Regions from separate parts of the Homo sapiens genome. Here region 2 is linked to region 1. Evidence: promoter capture Hi-C in human tissues and cell types (Jung and others, 2019). All regions are on one chromosome and are shown on one strand. The core of a region is centred on a gene start or on the middle of the fragment in contact, and the rest is flanking DNA. Distances in the headings are between cores, read along the strand shown.

What was found. The method cuts DNA at HindIII sites, captures the fragments that hold promoters and counts their contacts. A contact is called where the count stands out against the background at its distance.
Region 2: a fragment that was not itself captured here is called in contact with the fragment with the promoter of LCNL1 in region 1 in 4 of the 25 tissues and cell types used here (dorsolateral prefrontal cortex, lymphoblastoid cells, mesenchymal stem cells and 1 more).

What each region holds. Positions count from the first base shown.
Region 1 is chr9:136,980,473-136,986,436 of GRCh38, reverse strand. LCNL1 (lipocalin like 1) reads right to left here and starts at 3,444. Exons shown (of 3, transcript NM_207510.4): 1 at 2,729-3,444; 2 at 1,874-1,947; 3 at 679-1,724. The coding sequence starts at 2,850. The coding sequence ends at 1,426. PTGDS (prostaglandin D2 synthase) reads right to left here. Exons shown (of 7, transcript NM_000954.6): 6 at 5,582-5,604; 7 at 4,695-4,858. The coding sequence ends at 5,582. RefSeq lists enhancers at 993-1,548, 1,549-2,106. The HindIII fragment of the contact is 9,863 bases long and covers 1-5,438 here.
Region 2 is chr9:136,925,473-136,931,436 of GRCh38, reverse strand. It overlaps TRAF2 (TNF receptor associated factor 2), which reads right to left. Exons shown (of 11, transcript NM_021138.4): 11 at 4,830-5,754. The coding sequence ends at 5,536. Among named protein-coding and RNA genes, the nearest start is that of FBXW5, 16 kb to the left of the region's middle. The HindIII fragment of the contact is 3,433 bases long and covers 1,287-4,719 here.

The DNA of each region.
Region 1 (5,964 bases), core at 2,195-4,694:
AACACTATCCAAATATTCACAGATTTGCAACCAGTATTTTTATTATTATTTTGCTGAACTAGGTACATTACAGCTAGTAGGCTATTTTCCTTCAAATTCTTCGAGACTTGTCTGTAAAAGACAACACTGTCCTACATAGACTCCAGGCAGGGCAGAGTTTTATGCGGCTCCTCCTGTCCTCCTCGCCCTCCACTCTCCGTGGACAGGCCCTGGGTCAGAGTTGGGAGCGCTTCGTTGGTCTCCGGAACAGCCAGGCCTCTGGGGCGGGTCCTGGAGCCAGGAGTCAGGGGCTGGGGAGCTGGGGGACCCGGAGGGGCGCCTGGGGATGGAAGCCGCCGACACTGACTGGGGCAGCCGCTTGGGAGGACCCGGAAGGCCACGTCGCGCGGCGGTGTCCGCTGAAGCCTGGGGCGCGCGCCGCGTGGTGTCCGTGTCCCGCCCTCCCGGCGCCCCCAGTCTGGGGGTCTGGGTCCGTGCGGAGGTAGAAAAGTCCCAGAGCTGGGGCTGGGGCCCGTCCTGAGGAACCTCCCTGCCACGGAGCCGAGGCTCGGTCCCTCCTGGGCTAACGCCTACCCAGAGGGGCAACAGGGGGTGACCCGGCCCCTCCCCCAGGGCGCCCATGTACCTGGCCGCCCCCCCGCCACCCCTCCCTGCCCCCAAGAAACGCACAGCGCCACAGGCATTCAGGGTGTTTATTGCGCTTGGGGCCAGGGTGTGGAGGGAGGGGGCTCTTTGGGCAGGGCTGGGCGCACGGAGCAGCTGACCCCTGCGGGCACTCAGGGGCTGGACCCCTCACTGCAAAACAAGGAGCAGGTGGGCGGCGTCCCCTGCCTCCGCCCCCTCCCGACGCGCAGCCCCGCGGTTCCCCAGGCTGCTGCGGCTCGGATCCGCCCGGGTGCCCCATCACCCCCGCTGTCGTCCCTAGCTGCCCCGAAGGTAGAGGGCCCCGCGGTGCAGCCCACCGAGCTGGGAGGGCCCATGGTCCGCGGCTCCGCATGGCCATGGTCTACTCACCCGGGAGAGCGCGCCCGCACACTGGTCTGCAGAGAGATCGAGCCTGAGGCGCCACCCCGCGCCCCCTTCCCTGGGACGGAGGCCCCCGACCTGCCCCAAGGCGATCTCCTCCTGGGAACACCGGCCTGGGCAACGTCTCGCCCTCCCCCGACCCAGACAGGCTGGGTCTGCCCCGGGCACTTCTGTCCCGAATCTGAGATCAGTGGAGTGACCAGGGCCTGGCCCTTCCAGCAGGGGTGTGACCCGGGGCCTGGCCCTCCCAGCAGGGCTGCCGGCACCGCTCACCCGACTTCGGCAGCAGGACGCCCTGGCTGGGGCTCAGGCCCACTTGGGGCGCCAGTAGCTGCATCTTCTGGGCGCCTTCGGGAAACAGCTCGGGCGCTCGAGCTGAAGGTGGGGAGGGCGGGTAAGCTAAAGGGAAGGGGCTGGAGGGGCGAAGAGAGGGAGAGAGGGGCAGGGAGGGGCCGGGACCCGCGGCCACAGACACCAGGAGCCAGCGGTTCCACCTTCCGCGTGCAGAAAGGGCTGGTGCAGGCACAGGGGTGACATCCCAGACCCGAAGCGGGGGTGTCTGGGTCTCCGCCCCGCAGCCCGCCCACCGTAGAGCTGCAGCCACTGGTTCCGCAGGCCCCCTTTCCGCATCTCCAAGTACAGCAAGGCAAAGTGCTGGTAGTCGGAGAAGGCCACTCGGATGTCACTCAGGGCCATGGCTGGAGGAGCGAGAGCCGCTGACCCCAGGCCCAGGGCACCTCCCCCCCGAGCGTGGCACCCCTCACGCCCCGGCCCCAGGTGCCAATCCAGCAGTCCATGCAGCCTCCAGGGCCCCCACGCCACAGCCCTGCCTGCTGCCCCACCTCACCTGGGTTGCTGAACTGCCCCGGTACAGCACCCTCGGTGAAGGTCGTGTCCATTTTCTGGCACCCGCCATGGGGCCTGGGGAGAAAGAGCCCCAATCCCCTGAGTGGCCACCCCTGCCCAGCGCCCAGGCCTAGAGCCTACCTTGCTGTCTCTGAGCCCAGGGTCCCCTGTTCACCCTCACAATCCTTAGAGGACATGGGACTTTAGGATGACCTTAGAGGTGGGGACACTCCTGCTGGGGGTGGGGTGGGTATTAAGTACCTGTTCACAGGCACACAGCCTAGAATGCAGGGCCTCCAGGTCCCCCTTCCAGACACAGACACACAGAAGACACACACATACACACATGCACACACACGGAGATAGACACAGACACAGACACACTGACAGACACACACATAGACACGCACACAAGACACACACAGAGATAGACACACACAGCCAGACACAGATACACAGACACACAGACACACAGACGCATACAGTGATACACACATACACACTCAGAGGTACACATCTACAAAGACACACATGCATACACACGCACACACAGACACACACACATGCAGAAATAGACACACATACACAGAGACACAGCCACATACAGTGATACACACACAGACACAGACATGCAGACACTTTTCTCAACACCAGGCCTCAGGCAGTGCTTCCTCCAGGGCCTGGGTCCCTCTGGACTCCGTGTGGCTGCCATCTGGGGCTCTGCCGCACAGAGCCGTCGAGGACCCGTGGTCTGACCTCAATGTGCTGGGGACACCATGGTCCCTCTGGACCTTCATGTGGCCTCATGCTGGCCATCCTCTGAGGCTGAGTCTGATGGGCTCGTGTGGTCACTTACGTGGGGTATCCAAACTTGAGGGCCAGGTCACCATTCCCCAAGGGGGTCACTAAGACCACAGCCATCTTCATGGTGTCCTTGGAGTCCAGGAAGTCCTGGTCATCTGACACCACCCCGACCATGTACCAGGTGCCCTGGAACTGCAGGGCAAGTGCAGGGAAGGCTGGGAGGCCGCCCCTGTGCCCTGGGCCTGAGCCCACCACATTCTGCCCCGACACAGCTGCTTCCTGGCCACGGCAGGGGCTGCTGTACACATCTCGACCCCGATGCAGAACTGAGGGAGGGGGGCCTCAGTACATGAGCAACTGGCCCCCACCAGCCCAGCACCGGCCTGTCTGCAGCTGGCACCCAGGGGGTACGGCTGGATGGGTGGGGCTGTGGCAAGGTCACAGGTCTTTGTGGGGTGGGTGGGGGACAGTGAGGCACAGGCAACCAACTTGTCCCTATTTTGGGCCCTGGGGATTGTTGGGGGATGCAACTGAAAAGGTAGGATGGAGGCTGCAGTCTTCCCCAGCCAACCCCTACTCCAGTCAGACGGAGCGGGTGAGGTGGGGGTTTCCCCTGCCCCTAGCCCTGCTGAGCCTGGATCAAAGAGGGTGTGGACAGGGACCCGGGGTGCAGCACCAAAGCCGGGAGGACTCATTGGAGATGAGGAGGAAACAGGGCTGGGCACACCTGGCTGGCATCAAAGTTGGCCTGGATGGGGACCTGGGCCTGGCCTGGGGATGCCCAGAGCAGGGCAAGGAGGGAACTGATCAGCAGAGCCCGAAGCATCATGCAGCAAGATGGCATCTCCTCCGGACACGGGAGCAGGGCAGAGCTGAGGTGGCTCCTCTGTAGGCTTTACGCCCCTGAGGTGCCCTGGGGCGGCTGGCCTGGGACTGCACCCACTGTGACAGGCTTCTGATCAAGTTGCACCCTGCAGCGCTCTGGCCTGGCTCCCTCCACCCAACCCCAGCCATCCGTTGCCTTTCCTCCGGGGTGGGGCCGGATGCCTGGCAGCTGAGGGTAGTTCTGACGGGCCTCTGGGCTAGGGGGCCTGCAGCTCACCCATCCTGCCTCTTCGGCCTTCTGCAGCCCCTCTGGGATGTTGGAATCCCCCCTACCTTGAGCTCAGGCACAGCCCTAAGCCCCCTTCTCCGGGAAGGCCACCCAGAAGCTCACCCTCACCTCCGAGCCTCAAAATGCTTGGTGCCTCTGCAGGGTCTGCCTCGGGGGGGCCTGGTGGGCAGGTCACAGTGAGTCCTGCACATTGTGTACCTGAGAATGGCTGCCTGGGTGGGAATCTGGAAGGGAGCAGGGTTGGGCAGGGCACTGGCCGGGCATGGTGTGGCCGTGGTGCCAGGGCTCTGGTGAGTGGACAAGGCTGTGATCTGGAGGCCCAGGTCAGAGGGCAGGGGGCGCACAGGGAGCCAGAAGGGATATGGGGTAGCCTGTCCCCAGCCCACTCTGTCAGTCTGTCCTGATGCGGGGTGGAGACACTCTGGCATGTTTCAAACAAATGTTTCTTTTTGTCCCCTGAAACCCTTATCTCTGCCCAATCTCAGTGCGTTAATCCCACACCTCAAGATACCCAACAGGTCCAAAGCTCCTCTGGGGCCTCGAGCCTCAGGCCTTTACTGCTGAGGGGGTGACAGGGTGGCGTTGGGGGTGCAGGGCACCTGCCTAAGGGATTAGCTGAGTCACTGACCCCCAGCTCAGCACCGGCCTGGTGGCAGTGGCAGCTGAGGGGGTATGGCTCGACGTGTGGGGCTGTGGGGCAGGGGCACACGACTGTGTGGGGTGGGTGGGAGACAGTGAGGGACACCCCCTCCTAGCTGTCCTGACTCAAGACCCCACTGGGAGCAAACACTAGAGGGCCTGTTCCTTTGTTGACGTCAGGCTGAGATTTTAGAGGGGGAGGTCCGGGTGGCCAGGGCCAGGCCCAGGACGGGTGATGACAGCGCAGACAGCCAGGAGCCAGCTCTACTGACTTGCTTCCGGAGTTTATTGTGCAGGATGAAGCCTGAGTGGGCAGGGTTGCTTTGGCGGGGAGCCGGGGCAGGGGCTCGGGGAAGGAACAGAGCAGAGACATCCAGAGCGTGGGGGTCACCTGGCTGGCCGGGATCCCAGCTTCAGCCCTGGGGAGTCCTGAGGGGTGTGACCGAAAGGCTAGGATGGAGGACTGCAGTCTACCCCAGCCCACCTCCACTCCAGTCGATGGAGCAGGTGCGGGCTACGGGGACTTTTCTCTGCCCCCAGCCCCACTGAGCCCCGCTGAGAGAGCAAGATCCATCCCTGGGGCTTGGATCCCCGCTGCCCCAGGGTCTACAGACTCCACCCTTCCCAGCCCCAGGGTCCACAGACTCCAGCTCCAGCCTAGGCCTCCCTCCTGGGGGTGGTGGGTGAATCCGCCCTGAGCCTGCTCTCCGAGCTGTCCCACGGCATCCATGTAGCGTCCTTGGCCCTCCCCTTCCATCCCCTGTTCCCTCCCATCCTGTCTCCCCCACCCTGGTTTCCTCCTAGCCCAGGAGCCAGACACCCTTGCTGCCAGGTGGTCCCTGTGGTATAGCCCCTTGGCCTTGTCTGCCTGGGGCCTCGCACCTGCACCCCCCAACCATGAGCCTTCAGGAGTCAGCCCTGTTCCAGCCACTGGGACAGGTTTTCCTTCTGAGCCTCACACCTGTGCACCCATCAATGTGGGCAGCCCCAGTGTCTCCCGCCCGGCCCTGGACTGCAGCCATCGGGAAGGATGGGTCTGCAGCACCAGGCTGTCCTGGGGCCCTGATCCATCCCATCGCAGAGTGGGTTGGGTGGATGTGTGTTGAATGAATGAATGAATGAATGAATGAATGAATGAATGGAGTGGCTCACCTATTGTTCCGTCATGCACTTATCTGCCAAGAAAGAAGCCAGGGGCTGTCGTCAGAACCCCAGACTTAGGCCAATTTTCCCACTGGGCTTCCTGTTCCTCCCGTAACGCAGAGCTCGTCTTGACTGAGCCCCCAAACTGCACAGATCCCCCATCACCTCCCACCTCTCCCTGGGCACTGGAAACAAAGAGAGGGTCTTTCTCCACCTCTGCCAAGAGCAGGCTGTCCACCCCTAGGAGGCTGTGCCTGAGCCCAGTATGGTTGGTTCCCCTGTATCCCCCATGGGCACCCTCTACCCTATGCCCCCCACCAGGCTGAAGCCCCACATCCTGGGAGCTGCTGGGGCCTGGCACAGAGTGGGCGCCTGGTCTCCATGTCCCCCAT
Region 2 (5,964 bases), core at 1,754-4,253, 55 kb after region 1:
CAGAATTTTTTTGTAGTTGACTGTGAAATATATATGTACTGTCAAACAAACAAAAATAGGGAAAACAATTCTGAAAAACAACAACTGGCTGGGCGTGGTGGCTAATGCCTGTAATCCCATCACTTTGGGAAGCTGAGGCAGGCGGATCACTTGAGCCCAGGAGTTTCAGGCCAGCCTGGACAACAGAGAGACCCTGTCTCCGGCTGGGTGCAGTGGCTCATGCCTGTAATCCCAGCACTCTGGGAGGTCGAGGTAGGCAGATCTGAGGTCAGAAGATCGAGACCATACTGGCCAACATGGTGAAACCCCGACTCTACTAAAAATACAAAAAAATTACCTGGGTGTGGTGGCATGCACCTGTAATCCCAAATACTTGGAAGGCTGGGGCAGGAGAATCGCTTGAACCAAGGAGTCAGAGGTTGCAGTGAGCCAAGATGGGTCACTGTACTCCAGTCTGGTGACAGAGCGAGAGTCTGTCTCAAAAAAAAAAAAAAAAAAAAAAAAAAAAAAAAAACTCTATCTCTACTAAAAATTTAAAAAATTAACCGAGTGTGGTGGTGTGCCTGTGGTCCCAGCTACTTGGGATGCTTGAGGTGGGAAGACCTGCTTGAGCCTGAGGTCTCGAGGGTGCAGTGAGGTAGGATTTGTACCACTGCACTCCAGCCTAGGCAACAGAACGAGACTGTGACTGTCTTTAAAAAAAAAAAAAAAAAAAAAAAAAAAAAAAGGGCAGGGCAGGGCAAACGAAAAAAAAGAGAAAAGAAAACGAAAAGAAAAAAGGAAGGAGGGAGGGAGGAAAAAGGAAAAAAAGAAAAAGAGAAACAAGAATAAAGTTTGGCCAGGTACAGTGACACATGCCTATAATCCCAGCACTTTGGGAGTCCAAGACAGGACAGTGTGAGACCAGGAGTCTGAGACCACCCTGGGCAACATAGTGATATTCTGTCTCTACAAAAATTAAAGAAAATAAGCTGAGCACGATGGTGTGAACCTGTAGTCGCAGCTACTTGGGAGGCCTAGGTGGGAGGATCACTGGAGCTCAGGGGTTTGAGGCTGCAGTGAGGTAGGACTGCGCCATTGCGCTCCAGCCTGGGTGACAGAGCAAGACCCTATATCTTAAAAAGAAATTAAAAAAGAATGCTGACAACACAAAGTGCCCACAAGGATGTGGAGCAGCGGGAACTGTGGCTCATGCTGGCATTCCACAACAGGCTACAGCTATTCTGGAAAGTGCTTGGCAGTTTCTTTTGAATTTAAAAATACACTTACTGTGTGATCCAGCAGCCCCACTGCTAACTACCTTAATGAAATAAAAACTTGCTCAACAACCTGTACACAAATGTTTATAGCAGCTCTATTCAGACCTGCAAAACATTAGAAACAACCCAAACACCCTTCAACAGGTGACGAGACAAACTGATCCATCCATAGAGCACTACTCCAAAAAAAACAAAAAAAAAAGAGAGAAAACAAATGCTGATGCACGCATCCTGATCAGTCTCAGCGGCGTTCTGCAGATCTCGCTGCTCCCAGCCACGCATTGTAGGACTCCATTATGGGACCTTCTTGGAAAGACATAACTACAGTGGTGGAGGACAGGTGTGTGGCTGCCACGGGTCGGGGTGGTGACTATGGGGAAAGTGGAACAGTCTTCTGAGATGGCAGGGCTCGCCTGTCTCCCAGGTATGGTGCTTACCCACATCTGCACAGGTGTGAACATCCATGGAATTGAATGTTCCATGAACAAAACAAAAGAACAAATCAATTTTACTACGTGAAATTTAAAAATGTTATTAGGGGCCAGGTGCAACACCTGCAATCCCAGCACTTTGGGAGGCTGAGGTGGGCAGATCACCTGAGGTCAGCAGTTCGAGACCAGCCTGGCCAACATGGTAAAGCCCTGTCTCTACTAAAAATACAAAAATTAGCCAGGCGTGGTGGCTCACAGCTGTAATCCCAGCTACTCAGGAAGCTGAGGCAGGAGAATTGCTTGAACCTGGGAGGCGGAGGCTGCAGTGAGCCGAGATTGTGCCATTGTATTCCAGCCAGGAAGACAGAACGAGATTCCGTCTCAAAAAAAAAAAAAAAAAAAAAAAACACTTCCTGAGGGAGATGTAAGGTGACACAAAAGTTCGGCAATTCCTCCAAGAGCTGAACAAGCGGCCCAGCAGCTCTACTCCTCGGTATAAATATTCAAGAGAAATGAAAACAAATACACGTCCCCATAAAAACTTGTTCACAAATGTTCACAGCAGCATTTTCAGAGTAGCCAAAAAGTAGAAACCACCCAAATGTCCAGCAACGGATGAATGGATAAATAAGGTGTGGTGCATCCATACAAGAGATTATTCAGCCATTAGAAGGAATGAAACTCCAATGCATGCTGCAACACACAGGAACCATGAAAATATCTTGCTGAGTAAAAGCAAAGGCCACATTCACATGAATGTCCTGAGTAGGCAAATCTATAGAGACAGAAGGTAGGTTTATGGCTGGCTGTCAGGGGCTGAGCGGGAGGGAACAGTGACTGCTAAGGGAAGGTTTCTCTGCAGGGTGATGAAATGTCCCAAAATTAGGTAGTGACGATGGTACCTCTGTGGGTTTGCACAGAGCCTGTCACTTCCCCAGAAGGCCATGAGGCGGCTGGGCCAGGCCTGCCCACGGGGCTGCTCCAGAGCATTTTGTCCCTCAAGGGCCTTGGTCTGCTTCGTGGGAGCCTCTTGGTGTGGCAGCCAGTGCCTAGGGAATTGTTCCGAGTGCAGACCTCTGCCCCTTCTGCAGCCTGGAGCCCGATGCTGCTCTCACTGCGTGGGGGGTGCGGTCCTCAGCTCTTCCCCAGGTTCTCCAGACCTCCATCTCCACTGCAGGGAGGTGAGGGCCAGGAGGACCATCCGGCTGCTCTGGCAAAGGACCTCCAAGGTAGCTGCTCTGCCCCGTCTTTCAGTTGATCCACTTTTAGACTCTGCTCCATGCCAGGGCCTCCCGGTGTGGCCAGCTTCCCCCTCAGCCCTCTTCTGCTCAGCAGCCACCCACCAACCCACTTCCCACCTTCCAAAATGGGTTCAAATCCTTTGTGGGATGTTGGCTTCTTCCCCATCTTTGTCCCTGGGGGAGGATTTTTTTTTGGTCCATTCCTCTCATTTCACAGTTCCATTTCGTTTTAAGTGAGAAGAGATGACCTCAATCAATCTGTTTTAACAAACTGCAGTGACCCAGCAAAACCTGTCACATACAAACAAATCCCCAAATATAGAAGCCCAGTATGTTAAAGACAAAACTTCACAATCATTAGACGAAAACATGACAGTGGTTTCCAGCCTCAGGGAAGGTCAGGATGTTCTGAGTCGGTCGGAAATAGCACCATTCATAAAGGATAAGATCAGCTGATCATGTGTAAGGCTTAAGCTTCTGCACATCAGGAGCAACAGAAACGCAGTTCAAAGACACAACCGAGAATCCGTAATCAGGAATATCAGGAACTCCTACCAACCAGCAGAATAAGACCCAGACCAACAACCAGAAGAAAAATGAGAAAAAGACATCAACAGGCAATTCGCACGGGAGAGAATCCAAGGGAGAGGTAAGCGTGGTAAAGACGCCTGACTCCGCCGAGTCATCAGAGAAACGCACGTGACAGCGATGCCACTTCACTTCACACACAGCACGCTGCAGCATCTCAATTCCAACAACACGAAGCACGGGCAGGGATGGGAGGGATGGGAGTGATGGGAACCCTCCCCCTGGTGCTGGTGGAAGGACCGGATGCAGCCCCTCTGCAAAGCAAGCTGGCAACTGCTAAAAAGGGGAGGCCTAGAAACCACCAACCCTCCTTCCAGGTTGACAGGAGACCCACGAGAGCAGGTCTGGCTATCTCCAGTCACCAAACCCTGAAGACACGGGAAGAGACTGGAAGGTGCTCTCTAGGGAACTCACACACGGCAGTCAGAATCCACCATGTAGAGTGCCCAGCACAAGATGCATTAAAAGTAGCCAGGCTGAGTCAAAAGCCCAGCTACCTGCAGCTGACCCAGTGGATGGTTTCTGCATTTTTAATGCAATATTCTTATTTGTGAATACAGAAACGTACAGATGCAAAATTCTAAAGCCCAAAGAGAACCGGAACGCCTCAATTCCCGCCACGTGGCCTGGGGAGCTGAGGTGAGGCCGGGAAAGGGAACAGCAGGGCTCTGCAATGCTTGCTCTTTAGGCCCAGTACACACTCACGGAACACAGACAATGCCCGTCGGTCAGCTCCGTGCCTGAGTTATTTTCTGTACTTTTCTGTGGTCAACTTCTCAAACTACAGCAGTGCGTGAAGACGTCGAGAGGGGACAGCACTTTATCCTGGACCCCGATACAGATGCCCAGTAGGTCCCAGCACGGCTGCCCTGACACCGAGTGTGAAGCCGTGCCTACGCCTGCCTGCACTGTCCCAAAAACACACCACAGGGGCGGTGCAGCCAGGACCCTCGGTGTGGCCAGGACCCCCCGGGTGCAGCCAGGATGCTCGGTGGAGCCTGTGCACAGAAAGGCAGGACCAGGGCTGGCTCATCCTCATTCTGCTCTCACAGGAGTCCCTGGGGAGGCCCAGGAGAGGAGATGGACAGGGAAGAACATTCCAGAAGAGGGAACAAGGCTCGAGAAGAGGGAGCTTACATCAGGTGAGGAACAGAGAACACAGCCTGGCTAGCTAGAGAAGCAGGCAGGGGCTAGGCACCCCGTGGGGAGGGGTCTGTGAGAGGAGAGGCCAGGAGGACCCGCAGAGGGTCACCACTGCCAAGGCTGGAAGCCGCAGGCAACCTGGAATCAAATGGATGCCACTGACCACAGAGATTTGAATGGTTTAATAACTCTGTCTTCGTGAGCTGGATGGCAAGCTCTCACACTTTACCCGCAGGCTGTGCTGTGCACCTCCCACACAGTGGTCTGAGCAGAGGCGGCGTGGGACCAGACCCTCTCCCACAGCCAGCCTGGCCAAGGTGGCACAGACCAGAGCTCTGTGCAGACAAGCACCCAGGGGTCTAGGAATGCTCCCTTCTCTCCAGGGGCCAGAGGGGAGAACCAAGCTGCTCAGCCTTCCTTGCTCTGGCCAGCAGGAGGCCCTTCTCCTGGAGCAGCCCTCGTTTCTGCCTGTCATGCCCGAGGGACACAAGGCCATCCACTGTGCTCCTGCTACATGGGCACTGCTGGGATGTGCTCCCACTCTGAGTGTCCCCCACCCAGGGCCTCTCCCTTCACTGCACAGGACAGCAAGGGCAGCTTGTGCTGGGAAGCACCCGAAGACCCTCGGCCAATGCCACCACAGCCCTTGGCTAAGACCGTCTGCCAAGCCCCTCCGCAGTCTCTGAAATCTGAGGACTGGCTGGTGGCTCCTTCCCCCGTGACAGTGAACTTGGCTGCAGGCCGACACCCTCCCAAGCGCCCAAGCGCGGCCCCTGCCCACTTGTACAGTGAGACCCTGGCCCAGCGTGGTGGCCCCTCCGTGAGCCGGCTGTGCCTGGCTGCCCCCAACCCCCAGACACCAGTAGGGGGCAGTTAGAGCCCTGTCAGGTCCACAATGGCCTTGATGAAGATGGCATCGTCCCGCACGTAGGAATTCTTTGCCTCCATCTTGGAGACGGGGCAGAAGAGGGGGCAGCCGCTTGCGATGTTCATGTCGTTGACTGGCCTCTGAAAAGAGGATGAAGTCACGTCGGGCCTGAAGGCGTCAATCACGTGCTCCCGGTTATTCTGGTCGAGCAGCATTAAGGTCACCTGGAGGAGAGAGCCCCAGGGAGGGGACACAGGTCTGTGGGCCGTCTCTCTCTGGCTCCCGAGGGTCTGGACACTGGCAGGGCCACCAGCAGGAGGCCATCCCAGGACCCAGGCCAGAGGCTGAGGCCCAGCCGAGACCACGTGGTGGGCGGCCTTGCTCCTGCCACAGCGCCCGGGCTCCCCAGCCCTCCCCAGCCACCGGCATTCCGC